Regions from separate parts of the Homo sapiens genome. Here region 2 is linked to region 1. The links are contacts of gene promoters, found by promoter capture Hi-C in blood cells and fetal thymus (Javierre and others, 2016). All regions are on one chromosome and are shown on one strand. The core of a region is centred on a gene start or on the middle of the fragment in contact, and the rest is flanking DNA. Distances in the headings are between cores, read along the strand shown.

The links. Contacts are between HindIII fragments. The CHiCAGO score rates a contact against its expected background, and 5 or more counts as called.
Region 2: the fragment with the promoter of THAP1 here is called in contact with the fragment with the promoter of CCDC25 in region 1 in 1 of 17 cell types (total CD8 T cells); the score reaches 6.3 in total CD8 T cells.

What each region holds. Positions count from the first base shown.
Region 1 is chr8:27,767,792-27,774,900 of GRCh38, forward strand. CCDC25 (coiled-coil domain containing 25) reads right to left here and starts at 4,849. Exons shown (of 9, transcript NM_018246.3): 1 at 4,722-4,849. The coding sequence starts at 4,749. It overlaps ESCO2 (establishment of sister chromatid cohesion N-acetyltransferase 2), which reads left to right and starts at 6,763. Exons shown (of 11, transcript NM_001017420.3): 1 at 6,763-6,816. It also overlaps the pseudogene RNU6-1276P. RefSeq lists enhancers at 4,533-4,842, 6,391-6,540 and a silencer at 6,651-6,820. The HindIII fragment of the contact is 7,740 bases long and covers 1-6,329 here.
Region 2 is chr8:42,840,208-42,847,316 of GRCh38, forward strand. It overlaps THAP1 (THAP domain containing 1), which reads right to left and starts at 3,118. Exons shown (of 3, transcript NM_018105.3): 1 at 2,817-3,118. The coding sequence starts at 2,887. It overlaps LOC124901940 (a long non-coding RNA gene), which reads left to right and starts at 2,727. Exons shown (of 2, transcript XR_007060901.1): 1 at 2,727-3,176; 2 at 3,560-5,205. RefSeq lists enhancers at 2,711-3,501, 2,837-3,196 and a silencer at 2,717-2,806. The HindIII fragment of the contact is 1,565 bases long and covers 2,313-3,877 here.

The DNA.
Region 1 (7,109 bases), core at 3,599-6,098:
AATCTGAAGCATTCAGGGGTTAACTGCAACTTACAAACGTTTCAGGAAAAAGGTGTGTGCAAGAGAAAAAAATAGAGAAAAAGAGAAACGGAAAAAGAAAGACAAGGCATGTAGTAAAATGTCAGAATTTGTAGTCACAGTGGCTCACGTCTGTAATCCCACCACTTTGGGAGGCTGAGGCAGGTGGATTACTTGGGCCCAGGAGCTCGGGACCATCCTGGGCAATATGAGGAAACCCTGTCTCTATAAAAAAAAAATTTTTTTAATTAGCTGGGTGTGGTGGCTAAAGTGGGAGGATCACTTGAGCCCAAGAAGTTGAGGCTGCAATGATCTGTGACTGCACCACTACACTTGCCACTACACTTCGGCCTGGGTGACAGAGCAAGACTGTCTCAAAAAAAATTGGGGGACTCTGGGAGAATATACAGGAAATCTTTTACTATACTTGCAACTTCTCTGAAAGACTGAAATTATGTCATAATAGAAAATTAGTCTGGGCGCAGTGGCTCATGCATGTAATCCCAACACTTTGGGAGGCTGAAGCGGGAGGATCACTTGAGGCCAGGAGTTCAAGACCAGCCTGGCCAATATGGCGAAACCCTGTCTCCACTAAAAATTCAAAAATTAGTCAGCCGTAGTAGCACATGCCTGTAATCCCAGCTACTAAGGAGGCTGAGGCAAGAGAATCGCTTGAACCTAGGAGGCAGAAGTCGCAGTGAGTCGAGATCATGCCACTGCACTCCAGCCTGGGAGACAGAGCAAGACTCCATCTCAAAAAAAAAAAAAAAAGAAAAGAAAATGAAAAATAAAAAGGAACATCATTGCTGCACAACAAGTCTGAATTAAGTTCCTTTCCATGTTAAGAAGGAAAAGTAAACTGAATTATTCTAGTTCATTTGTTATTCTCATCTAAATAATATGGTTGATTAGTACTGGAACCGGTTATTTGGAAGACACTTGACTTACGGGTAGCAACCAACCCAACTTCAGAGGTGATCTGATTATTTCACAATTTATAGAACAATCTACTTTTAGGCAGATGATATTAACAGGTATTAAAAGTACAAGTGGACTTTGAGCCAAGTATCTATAATCAGATGGTCTTAAATGTGACACTGGACTTATTAGACTAATGTTCAATTATTCCCTTATGAGACAGCATGAAAGAATGAAAATGGAACACATTTTAGTCAGATATTAATCTTAAAATGTAAAAGAACAACTTCCTATGAAGATTTTCTTCCCATTTTAAAAAAGTTTTTATGCAGTAAAAACCATCAGTTAGTTAAAAACTTGGCAAGCCATACAAATTCATTTCCTGAAGATTCTATATATTTGTTGTTTCTATACTGCCAATATGTAAAGTCTCATTACTATTTTACTGAGAAAGTTATGATTTTTCCATTAACTTTGCAGTTTTAAAAGATCAGCTGCACAAGTGCACTTTTATTAGGCTTAGAGGCCAAATATTTTTCTAACAGGAAACAGTTCTGACATTATAATGGAAGTCAATGAAAAAAAAACAGGACCCACAAATCTAGTGAAGCATTTTGCTCTATTAAGGGCAGATGTGTATGTGTGACTAACACTTAAAGAATTCAGAGTAACTTTAAGGGGAATAGAACAGCACAAAATACATTCAGTACCTATACACCCTGCCTGTATATTTGTTTTTCCATTGTTGGGTTTATATGGATATCTATGTTGTTGAAGATTCACAACTGGAGAAGTTATAAAGAGATGCCTGAGTTGCCAAGGACGAAAATGCTTAGAGGCCTATAAGGGTATATGATTTTTCAGGCTGGTTTTGAATTTTGTTTCTAGTAATTTTAATAATATGGGTAAAACAAACCACATGTACAGAGACAGAGAAATAGCTCATGGCACACACTGTGGAAGGCTAAACTACTGAGAAAAATAAGGAGATGTCAGTGTGATGAAGGTGGAAGAGTAGGGTCTGTGAGTTACAACTTCCCTGAGCCTCAATCTTACTTCTAAAGAGAAAGTATTGCCTTATTCAAACCCACACAAACAATGTGGAACTAGTTTCACTTAAATCTTACCTTTTGGCTGAGCGTGGTGATTCACGCCTTTAATCCTAGCACTTTGGAAGGCCGAGGCGGGTGGATCACTTGAGGTAAGGAGTTCGAGACTAGCCTGGCCAATATGGTGAAACCCCGTTTCTACTAACAAAATACAAAAATTAGCCACGCATGGTGGCGTGTGCCTGTAATCCCAGCTACTTGGGAGACTGAGGCAGTAGAATTGCTTGAACCCAGGAGGTAGAGGTTGCAGTGAACTGAGATCACACCACCGTACTCTAGCCCGAGTGACAGAGGGAGACTCCATCTCAAAAAAACAAAAAACAAAACAAAACAAAAACTCACCTTTTGTAATTCCAGCACTTTGGGAGGTTAAGGTGGGTAGATCACTTGAGCTCAGGAGTTCAAGACCAGCCTGAGCAACATGATGAAACCCCATCTTTACTAAAAATACAAAAATCAGCCAGGCATGTTGGCTGGTCCCTGTAATCCTAGCTGTACCAGAATCGCTTGAACCCAGGAGATGGAGGTTGCAGTAAGCTGAGATCGTGCCACTGCACTCTAGCCTGGGTGACAAAGCAAGACTCCGTCTCAAAAATAAATAAAATAAATCTCACCTTTAGACCGGGCGCAGTGGCTCATGCTGGTAATCCCAGCACTTTGGGAGGCTGAGGCAGGCAGATCACCTGAGGTCGGGAGTTCAAGACCAGCCTGACCAACATGGAGAAACCCCGTCTCTACTAAAAAAATACAAAATTAGCCAGGCTTGGTGGCGCATTCCTGTAATCCCAGCTACACAGGAGGCTGAGGCAGCAGAATCGCTTGAACCCGGGAGGCAGAGGTTGCAGTGAGCCGAGATCGTGCCATTGCACTCCAGCCTGGGCAACAAGAGCAAAACTCCGTCTCCAAAAAAAAAAAAAACAAAAACAAAAACAAAAAACTCACCTTTAACAAGCATATAGAGTAGCAATAGAATAGAAAGTGCTATAAGTAAGTAAAAAAATGGCATTCATTTATTCAACAAGCATTTATTGAGAACTACTAACCAGTCACTACGTTAGGGAAACAAGTACAGTAGTCCCCCCTTATCTGTGGGGGATGTCTTCCAAGATCTCCAGCAGATGCCTGAAACCGAGGACAACACTGAATTCCATATATAAAGGGACTTGCCACATAATGATGCTTTGGTCAGCAACAAACCACACATACTATGGTGGTCCCATAACATTATAACGAAGCTGAAAAATTCTGATCACTATTGCCTGATGACCTGGTAGCCATCATAACAGCGTGGTGCAACTCACTTTTTCTACGTTGAGACCCGTTTAAATACACAAACACCATTGCGTTACCATTGCCTACAGCCATTCAGTACAGCAACGTGCTGTACAAGTTTGTACCCTAGGAGCAACGGTATACTGTACAGCCTACATTTGTGGTAGGCTATACCACAGGTTTAAGTATACTCTACCGTGTTGCTACAACAATGAAACCGCCTAATGGAGCATTTCTCAGAATGTATTCTTGTCATTAAGGGACGCATGGCTACTGGTATTCCCTATATATGTATACCTATGATAAAGTTAATGTATCAGTTCGGTGGAGTAAGAGATTATTGACAATAACTAATAATAAAATAGAACGATTATAACAACGTACTGTAATAAAAGTTAGGTGACTCTGCTCTCTCTCTCTCTCAAAACCTTATTGTACTGTACTCACTCCTTTTCTTCTTGTGATGATGTGACCACGGAAAGCGAAATACAGGACAAGTAGGGACTACTGTAAAGAGATCCTGTCCACGCCCTCAAGGGACTTACACTCTAGCTCAAGCAGACACCATTTAATACCACGTGATAAGTGCAATGCCAAAGGCATACTTGGAACGTTAAGTGGGTCCCAGGAAAGGAATAGCTAAGCAATCTTGGGGTAGGAGCTAGCATCAGGAAAGGCATCTTGGAAAAGATGGGCCAAAACTGTCTTAAGGGAATTAGCTGGGGGTTGATTTTAGGAAAGGGGAATAACAGGAACAGAACGAAACCAAGTCGGGACACTGCATTTCCTGGGAACGAAGGGCACCCTTTCCTTATCTGTCAAAGATAAGTCAGAAGCATTACCATAGGTCACTTCTGAGATCTGGGACATCAACTGCCCGGAGAGTGGCTGGGTGGACATCCCAGGGTCTTTTTATTGTTTTCTGTTGCATCCCAGACCCTACAACCCCTTCCTGAAAGGGTAAGTCGCGCTTCCCTTAAGAAAAAGTTGTTAGCAGGTGTCTCCTTTCTCACAGGGGATAATTACAAGGGTTCAGCCAGAACAAAGGCCGCAGATGGAAGGTGGGAAGAAGACTTGGGATAAGGTGTGTGGAGGAGCCCACAGGCTCTGCCCAATCCCAGGGAGTGACGGGACGTCTTTCCGATTAGGGGACGAGAACTCCCCGATACAAACATAGCAGTGGCATCGCCCCTCCGCGCCCCCCACGCCATGACGAGGGGACGCCGGGGGAAATCCTGCAGCCGTGGGAGGGACGGATGTGCTGGGGGACCGAGAGGCCGCGGGAAGAGGCACTCGCATCCAGAAGGCATTTTAGAGCGAGGGTCAGGCGCAGCGGCGGACTGCGGGTCCCGGCTTCGGAGCCCGCTGTCCAGCAGGGTCCAGGAGGACGTGGCGCCCACTCACCGCTGCTGCTGGTGAAGTAGAACACCATGATCCCGGGAGCGGTGCGGTGACTCCACCGCGGAGCAGCAGCGCTCAACTCACGAAGCTCAGGATACCAGACTCGCGGCGGCCGCCTGGCCCCCGGAACTCCTCCGTGCACTTCCGGCGGACGTCGGGGCGCGTCATAACGCCGGCCGTGGGCGCCATTTTTAATCCTGGCGAGGCGAAGTGTAGTGGCAAGGAGTTTGGTTCAGTGATTTGTGGGTTAAGGGAAAGAGGCTGGGCATCTTGGGCACGTTAGTTAACCTGTCTGTGCTTCACTTTCCTCAGCAGCGAAATGAAGATGATACTAGAGCAGCTAACTCACAGGATATTTTTTAGGGTTAAATAAGTTAATGGGCGCCAAGGGTTTAGAACATAGCACACAAACGAGTTGTTTCTGATACTCACCAGGACAATATGCCTCTTGGGGATTGGACTTTGTTCTGGCTTAAATCGAAGGCCTGCCATCCCAAACCTCTGAACCTCAGAGGTCCTCCTGCTATAAAGTAGGAATAATCATATTCATGTAAAGCTCCTACAGCACTTGGCTTTGCCCTGATTATTTCTCTTGAGAAAGCACTTTTATCTGAGGAATGTGAGTCCCTTTAAATTACTAGGTCTGGAGAGGCATTAAGATAAGACCCCATCATGTTCTACCACCCCCTTGAGCTATGTATTCATCTACTGAAACTACCTGCTTCTGCCACAGGTAGCTACCTACTAACCTAACACTGCCACACAAGACACTATGACATGACCCACACCCTATAGTTTAACAATGTCTAGCCAATCACTGATGCTTGTAGTTTCTATACATCAATGAGAATGCTTGACAGTTGTGTATCAGCCCACTTCCTGCCCCCCTTCTTCGTCTTTAAAAACCTGCTTGTAGCAAAGGCCAGACAGAGCTCATATCCAAGCCTGCTGGTGGAGGGCGGTGGGGGGAGGGGGGTTGGAATCTTCTGGGCAGCTGTCCCCGCTTTAACTCAAGCAAACTCTACATTCTTTTTTTTTTTGCCTCAGCCTTTTCCTTTTAAACTGACACTCTTACATCACTGTCACTGACTTCATTCTATGAAATTGAGGGCGTCACTTAACGAAATTTATTTACATGCTTGCTTTGACAGCATGTATACTAAAATTGGAATGATACAGAGAACTTTAACATGGCCCCTGCTCAAGGATGACATACAAATTTGTGAAAATTAAATTTGAAAAAATAAACATAAAACTCTAAACTTATTTGAAACTAAAAATGTGCCAGAAACACTGTACCAGGAGCTGGTGACACAAAGATAGTAACAATAGCTAACAATAACCGTTTTAGGAACTTTCTGGTTTTCCAAAGTAAGAATTTAGCTCTGTTCTGTAAATAGCAATTGTTTTGGGTTCTCCGTTGTATTATTTGTAAAATGGGAATGGCAATAGATATTAATGCCTTACAGATTGTGGTAAGAAGTAAATGAAACAAAACATGTAAAGCATCTAAGAATGCCTGGCACATAGCAGGTGTTAAGTTTTATATTTTAATTTGAAAAATAAATAGAAACCTAAAGTTACTAATAAAAAAAGTGAAACTGACAATGAAGCTTCAAATGTGAAAAATAAGTGCATCGAGAATCTTGGAGAGGCCTTTATTTATTTATTTATTTATTTATTTTTGAGACGGAGTCTTGCTCTGTCGCCAGGCTGGAGAGGCCATTTTACAAAAATTTCTTACCCCGTGACCCCAGAATGTATCTCAACTTCAACTGGACCGAGAACTACAATTCCCAGAATGCACCTAAACAAGGCCCCGGGAACGGAGTCCGGCGTTGCTGCAGGGGATTGTGGGTGGCGTGGTTTCCCTCAGAGATTTTTCACCTCACCAGGGCGCGAGAATCTTGGAAACAGCCACCAGGGTGGGCGGGGCAAGGGCTGGTGCTCCACCAATCACCGAGCCAGCCCCTGGAAGCGCTGAGCCGTGGCCAATCGGAACGCAGCGGCTTCCTCCTAGCCTGGCGCGCGATTATTTGAAGACGCTCACGGAGCGGCTGGCTAGGCTGAGGAGAGCTCGCCGGGCTCTGAGGCGCAGGTAACCTCTGGAGTAGGCCGAGGCGGGGGGCTGTGGAAGGCTGAGGCGAGCGGGAGACCCTGTGGAACGTGGGGGCGAATGTCACGGGGAAAGAGCTTTTGCTCGGCGCTCGGCAGGTCCGCAGGCCCGAGACCGAAGAAGCCACTGACTCGTTCTCCGCGCTCACAGGCGCCGGGTTTCCCTCTTCCCGACGCCGGCGTTTCCTTGTTTTGGGTTTAGGGTTTGTTTGTTTGTTTGTTTCCCTGACCGGGTTCAGGGTCGGGACGCTTTCCTCTCCTACCTTTCCTCGCTTA
Region 2 (7,109 bases), core at 1,868-4,367, about 15 Mb after region 1:
ACCTGTATTCATATTTTTTACCAGTAATTTTCTGTGTGCTGCACAGAGAGACAAAGATTGCACATTTGTATCTGCGTACTGGGAAAAAGGGGCTTCTAGTTCTCTTAGCATCAGTCTGACAAATATGAATAGGCTAAATTTGAATTAAAGGCAGATAATAACGAAAGAATTTATTTTCTAATCAACTGGGATGTCCATTAGGCCCAGGTAAACGGGGATAGTGAGAGTTTACATTTATTGTGGTAATTTTACTCTTCCAAGTTAAGAATTTGGTAAACTGGGGGGATTAGAAAGAAAAAGGGAAGGGAATTTCAAATTTATGTTTCACAGTCTCTCTTCCATGTACGATATGCTAGAGCCTGACTCTGCTAGTAAGAGATCTTTATGACAGTCCCTTTTCTTTGTACGACATAGCACTCTCCGCTGCCACTATGTAGAGGGTGGGAGAAGTGGTACTCCTAGAAAATCTCAGCTGGGGCTGGGCATGGCCTGTAATCAGGCCTGTAATCCCAGCACTTTGGGAGGCTGAGGAGGGCGGATCAGGAGGTCGAAGTATGGAGACCATCCTGGCCAACATGGTGAAACCCTGTCTCTACTAAAAATACAAAAATTAGCTGGGCGTGGTGGTGCACACCTGTAGTCCCAGCTACTTGGGAGGCTGAGGCAGGAGAATCACTTGAACTCGGGAGGCAGAGGTTGCACTGAGCTGAGATCGTGCCACTGCACTCTAGCCTGGTGACAGAGCAAGACTCCATCTCAAAAAAAAAAAAAAAAAAAAAAGAAAGAAAATCTCAACTGGAACGGCCTCTATAAGTATAAACTAGGGTAGCATTTGCTGGTAAAATTCAGTACCTATGGCCTCCTGGCTCTGTAAGTATAAACTATGGTAGCATTTGCTGGTAAAATTCAGTACCTAGGGCCTCCTGGCTCAAGGACAACAAATTTACAGCTGTTTGTGAGATTCTCTTAAGATCTTTCCCATCTACTCTCCCTAAACCTGCTATTTTAGATAAGGGATAAGATGCAGGTTAGCCCTTCTTTTGATTCAATCCATATCTGCTTAACATCTAGCAGAAACAGTTGTATCTTTTTTTTTTTTTTTTTTTTTTTTTGAGATGGAGTCTCACTCTGTTACCCAAGCTGGAGTGCAGGGCAAGATCTCAGCTCACTGCAACCTCCATATCCCAGGTTCAAGTGATTCCCCTACCTCAGCCTCCCAAGTAGCTAAGATTACAGGCGTACGCCTGTATTTTGTATTTTTAGTAGAGACGGGATTTTGCCATGTTGGCCAGGCTGGTCTCGAACTCCTGACGTCAGGTGATCCGCCCACCTTGGCCTCCCCAAGTGCTGGGAATTACAGGCATGAGCCATCGTGCCTCGACAAAAACAGTTATTTCCGACGTGTGAATACCCTCTTTAAACTAGTTTCCAGTGCCAATGAAACATTTTCCATAATTTTAGATTCCTTCTGCCAAGCCATCAGAAATGTGGGTGGGGAGCTGGGCATGTAATCCTGTTACCATCACCTGACCTTTCCCTACATTTAGAAAGAACATGTTTACAGAAATTCCAATTAAATCAAGAGATAATATTAGGATATCCTGAACTGAATCCTCTAAGTGTTCTATCCCCTTCTCCAAGGGGTAACATTATTACTCTGGAGACCTCTCTATGTTCTACACACTCTTATTTCTATAGGGTCCATCTCACATGATATCAAACATATTTAAAAAATGCATGGACACTCCCCTAGTAAACACAGATGGCCCCACAGCAAAAAAATAAATTAACTGAAAAGATATTTAACATTTTGCTTTTGTAATTATTTACCTAATTATAAAAGATAATTAGCTAATTACCTATGGCTAATCTGTATAGTTTACCCCTGGATCTGATTTCTTACCTATCATCTGCGTATAGCTGTCAGGAATTCTTGCAAAGAAAACTTAACATAAATGTAATTAAAATTTGTAAACAAATTCAGCTGAATGAAAATGTTATGTCACATTTTACAAGCGTTTATCATAAGTAATTACAACTCTGCACTTTTTTCCTATTTTCAAGAGAATATTTTTGATCCTATCACTTAACTGTGCTACCTACTGGATAAGACAGCTCTGAAAGCTGTGGGGCAGTTTCTTTCGAAAGAGCTTTCTCTATGCACAGGTAATGCCATAATAAATAAAGATCCGTGTGAGTCATTTTATTATGATCCATGTTGTAACTGTCCATATTATCATTATTGTGTGCTGAAAAGATAACGATTTATCTCGGCAGTACCTGAAGCTTTCTCCAAAATACAGGGTCCTTAAAGCTTAGTTCCTAGAGATTGGGGGCAAAAATTCTCCCTGATTTCCCAGCCAAAAAACCCTTAATTGCTACGATGCTGGCCTCCCATCCACGGCAAGGGCGAAAAGTAGTGATTTCTTCGTTTAAAGGCCTTTGTTTCTATTTTAAATTTACCCCTAAGACCATATTAAAACACCTGGCTGCTCTGTGACCCTGGTGGTGGCAAAACCCGCGCCACCCTAGGCATCGCCCGTGGGCTCCGAACGCGTCAACCCAGGCCGTGAGCGAAGCCTGCAACCAGGGCCTGTTCCAGGAGCGCGAGAAACGGCTGCCGCGGCGACGCGCGCCGAGAACGCGCGATCGGGCGGCGGTTCCCAGCGGGACGCGGTGGGAAACGCCCGACACGGCCGGCCCCAGACCCCACCCGCCCCTCGCGCGGACACGCGCCTGGCTCCGCCCCCGGCCCCGCCGGCCGCGCGCCCCCACCCCGGCTGAGACCGGCCCCGCGAGGCGCGCAGGGTCCTCACTTGTGGAAAGAAACGGGCTTGTCCTTGTCGTAGCGGTTCTTGCAGCCGTAGGCGGAGCAGGACTGCACCATCCTTCCGGTCCTCAGGCACTTCACTTCTGCCGCCGCAGAAGGCAGGGGAAGCTGTTCTCAGTGTCGCTGCGCTCGGTTGGATTCCCTCGCTTCTTTTGTAGCTTTGGCCAACAGTTACAGTGATGGTGGCCTCCCTCGGGGGTGACTAGTGTGCCCGTTTTGTTGTTTGCATTAGCAGAAGGACCACAGCCATCGCCCGTCTCCCATCTCCAAGATGGCGGAGGCAGCTTCAACCTCACCTCTCGCGAGGGGTGCGTCCCACTGTCTCTGATTAGCCCCGAGGTCAGAGGTAACGTTTCCTGGGAAGCTAACTATTGGCTGAGGCCAGGTGTTTCCGGCGGTGGCTTCAGAGTTGCCGAAGTGGGCGGAGCCCTGAGCTTCCGGCAGGCAGGAAGGAACTGCTTGTGGGGGGAGGAGGCGCGGCGGGAGGCCGGATTCCTGGGGCATCCTCCAGCCCCGGGCTGTTCCCGTGGGTTAATTGATGCGGACCTTTTCTGGGGCAGCTTACAGTAGGGAACAACTAGGGCCTCTTGGAGAACAGGTGTAAAGCCGAGGTCGTTGGCTGATTGCGCCCATTTCTTTAAAAGGGCGGACACAGATGGTGTATGATTAATAAAATTGTGGAACCTTTTCCCAGAGTGCTAATCTTTATCCCATTACCTGTGTCTTCAGGTATCACAAGTTTCTGTGAGAGCCAACGTGACAGATTTTTAGCAATGAAAAAAGACACACTCGCCAAATCATCTCAATTGCCAACGCAGAAGCGTTTTATATATATGTATGTATATGTATGTATATATGTGTGTATGTATATATGTGTGTGTGTATGTATATATATATATATATATGTAATTTTTTAAATAAATAGAGGCGTTGTCTCCCCACGTTGCCCAGGTCAGTCTGGAACTCGAGCTCAAGGGATCCTCCCATCTCGACCTCCCCATGGGTTGGGATTACAGGAGTTGAGCCACCAGGCTGTCCCTCCCCAGAAGCTTTTCTGAAGGCTCTCCATTGCTGTGATTTCCATGTGCTGTGTTGCAAATAGCGAACTGCTGCAGCAATTTTCACACCTGAGAGAGAATATGTTAGAGGGGTTCGAACTAGAGCGACTCTGTGTTGAGTGAGGGCTAGGAAAATGAGGCTGGGACTTGCTGGGCTGCATTCCCGGGAAGTTAGGTATTCCTAGCCTCTAGATGTGTATACCATTAAGGCAACAGATTGATAATGTTTACTACACAGACCCAGACTACCAAGTGTCCAGATATCCCGATATTTTGAGAACAGAAGCATTCCTAATTTTGCTTTAAAGATAATAATATTGGGCTGGGCACAGTGCCTCACGCCTGTAATCCCAGCACTTTGGAAGGCCGAGGCGGGCGGATCACTTGAGGTCAGGAGTTCAAGACTAGCCTGGTCAACATGGTGAAAACGTCTCTACTAAAAATACAAAAATTAACCGGGTGTGGTGGCACATGCCCTCGAATTTCAGCTACTCTGGAGGCTGAGGCAGGATAATCGCTTGAATCCGGGAGGCGGGGGTTGCAGTGAGCCGTGCTTGCACCACTGCACTCCAGCCTGGGCGACAGAGTAAGACTCTGTCTCATAAATAAAGATAATATCGATTCTTACATAATATAGTAATTAATCCTTTATCACAAACCCTTGTAGCAAAGCACATCTCCCCATGATCTTTTTTTATCCTATATATAAACTAAGTGTTGTACTTAGGGTGGACGCGTTCCTCCTCTTACTTTCGGGAATGCCCTACTCTGTCTGTGGAGTAGCTGTACTTTCACCACTTTACGTTCTTAATAAACTTGCTTTTGCTTTGTACTGTGGACTTGCCCTGAATTCTGTCTTGCGTGAGATCCAAGAACCCTGTCTTGGGGTCTGGATTGGGACCCCTTTCCTGTAACAGTTTTACTTCATTCCCTGCTCCTTTTCTTTATATAGATCTGAGCCAGGCAGACCTGGAGAGCGGACTGTTGAGTAATCCCTTGGCCCTTATTCTCTACCTTTCCTGCCCTTTTAAATGTTGCTGTTTCCCCAGGGTTCCATCTTCTGCCCTCCTCTAACTCCTAAACACCCTGCTCCTTAAACTGAACCAAATACCATAATTCTCTCATCTTTTATTTCCTTTGTATATCCGTTCTGCCTTTGGGATTATCATCTGTGAATTATCATCTGTGAATTATCTGTTCAACAGTTGTCTAAACCAGAAACCTTGGAGTCATCTTGGATTTTTTTTGTCACCCATAAAACCCGTTGATGACCAGGTTAATTTTGTAGACTAAATAAATAAATGCCCCTTAAATCCATCCCTCTTCATGTCTCCTCACTGTTGTTGTTGTTTTTTTTTTTGTTTTTTTTTTTGAGAGGGAGTCTCACTCTGTCGCTCAGTCTGGAGTGCAGTGGCACAATCTCAGTTCACTGCAACCTCCGCCTCCTGGGTTCAAGCGATTATCCCGCCTCAGCCTCCTAAGTAGCTGGGATTACAGGCACCCGCCACCATGCCTGGCTAATTTTTGTATTTTTGTAGAGATGGGGTTTCACCATGTTGGCCAGGCTGGACTCGAACTCCTGACCTCAGGTGATACGCCTGCCTCGGCCTCCCAAAGTGTTGGGATTACAGGCGTGAGCCACTGCGCCCAACCCTCACTGTTCTTTAATTATTTTTATTATTATATTTAACAGAGATGAGGTCTCACTGTGTTGCCCAGGCTGGTCTCAAACTCCTGGGTTTAAGCTATCTGTCAGCCAGGGCCTCCCAAAGTCCTGGGACTACAGGCGTGAGCCACGGCACCTGGCCTCCTCACTGTTCTTGACCAAGCTCTCATGGTCTTAACCTTGCAGCAACCCCTTAACTATCCTAGTCTCCAGTTTTACCTCTCTCCATTCTATCTTCTATAGAAGGGTGGTGCATGCCTGCCACGCCCTTGCTCATATCCTTCCAAGGCTACCTGCTGTACTGAATAAAATCCAAACTTCTTATGGTGAATTATAAAGCTCTTTAAGACCAAGTACTTCTACTCTTCCACCATCATCTCCCTCCACTTGTCTTTACCTTTGTTCCGGCTTTATGTCTTAGAGGGTAGGCTCTTTTGTGGTTTCTTTAAATAGGCTGTTTTCCTTGGCTTGAAATGCCCATCCCTGACCTGTCCACCCTTAAGATGTGGCTTAATGGCCTGGTGCAGTGGCTCACGCCTGTAATCCCAGCACTTTGGGAGGCTGAGGCGGGTGGATCACATGAGCCCAGGTGTTCAAGGCCAGCCTGGGCAACATAGTGAGACCCTGTCTCTACAAAAAAAATACAAAAATTAGCCAGGCATGTTGGCACACACCTGTAGTCCCAGATACTTGGGAGGCTGAGTTGAGAGGATTCCTTGAACCCAGAAGGTTGAGGCTGCAGTGAGCTGTGGTCATGCCTTTGTACTCCAGCCTGAGCAAACAGAATGAGACCCTGTCTCAAACAAGCAAACCAACAGTTACCATGAGCTGGGTGTCAGGGCTCAGGAGGCTGAGGCAGGGACTCAAGGCAGCCTGGACAGCAGAGTGAGACCCTGTTTCTAAAAAGTTGTTTTTAATTGGTCAGGTATGGTGGTGCATGCCTGTAGTTCCAGCTACTTGGGAGGCTGAGGCAAGGAGGATCCCTTGAGTCCAGGAGTCTGAGGCTGCTGGAGTGTGAGCTATGATCATGACAGTGAGATCCCATCTCTAAATTTTATACACATACACATACACACACAGATATGTATTGCTAAAAAAAAAAGCTAATGATCACCTGAGCCTTCAGCAAATGGTGATCTTTTTGTTGATGGAGAGTCTTGCCTTGATGTTGATGGCTGCTGACTGATCATGGTTGCTGAAGGTTGAGGTGGCTGTGGCAAGTTCTTAAAATGAGACAACAATGAAGTTTGCTGCATCGATTGACTCTTCCTTTCATTAAATATTTCTCTGTAGCAAGTAATGCTGTTTAATAGCATTTTGGTCACAGTAGAACTTCTTTAAGAATTGGAGTTAATCCTCTCAAACCCTGCCACTGCTTTATCAACTAGGTTTATTTAATATTCAAAATATTCTAAATCCGTTGTTGTCATTTCAACAATGTTCACAGCATCTTTGCCAGAAGTAGATTCCATCTTCATAAACTACTTTATTTGCTCATCTATAAGAAGCAACTCCTCATCTGTTCAAGTTTTATCATGAAATTGCAGCAACTCAG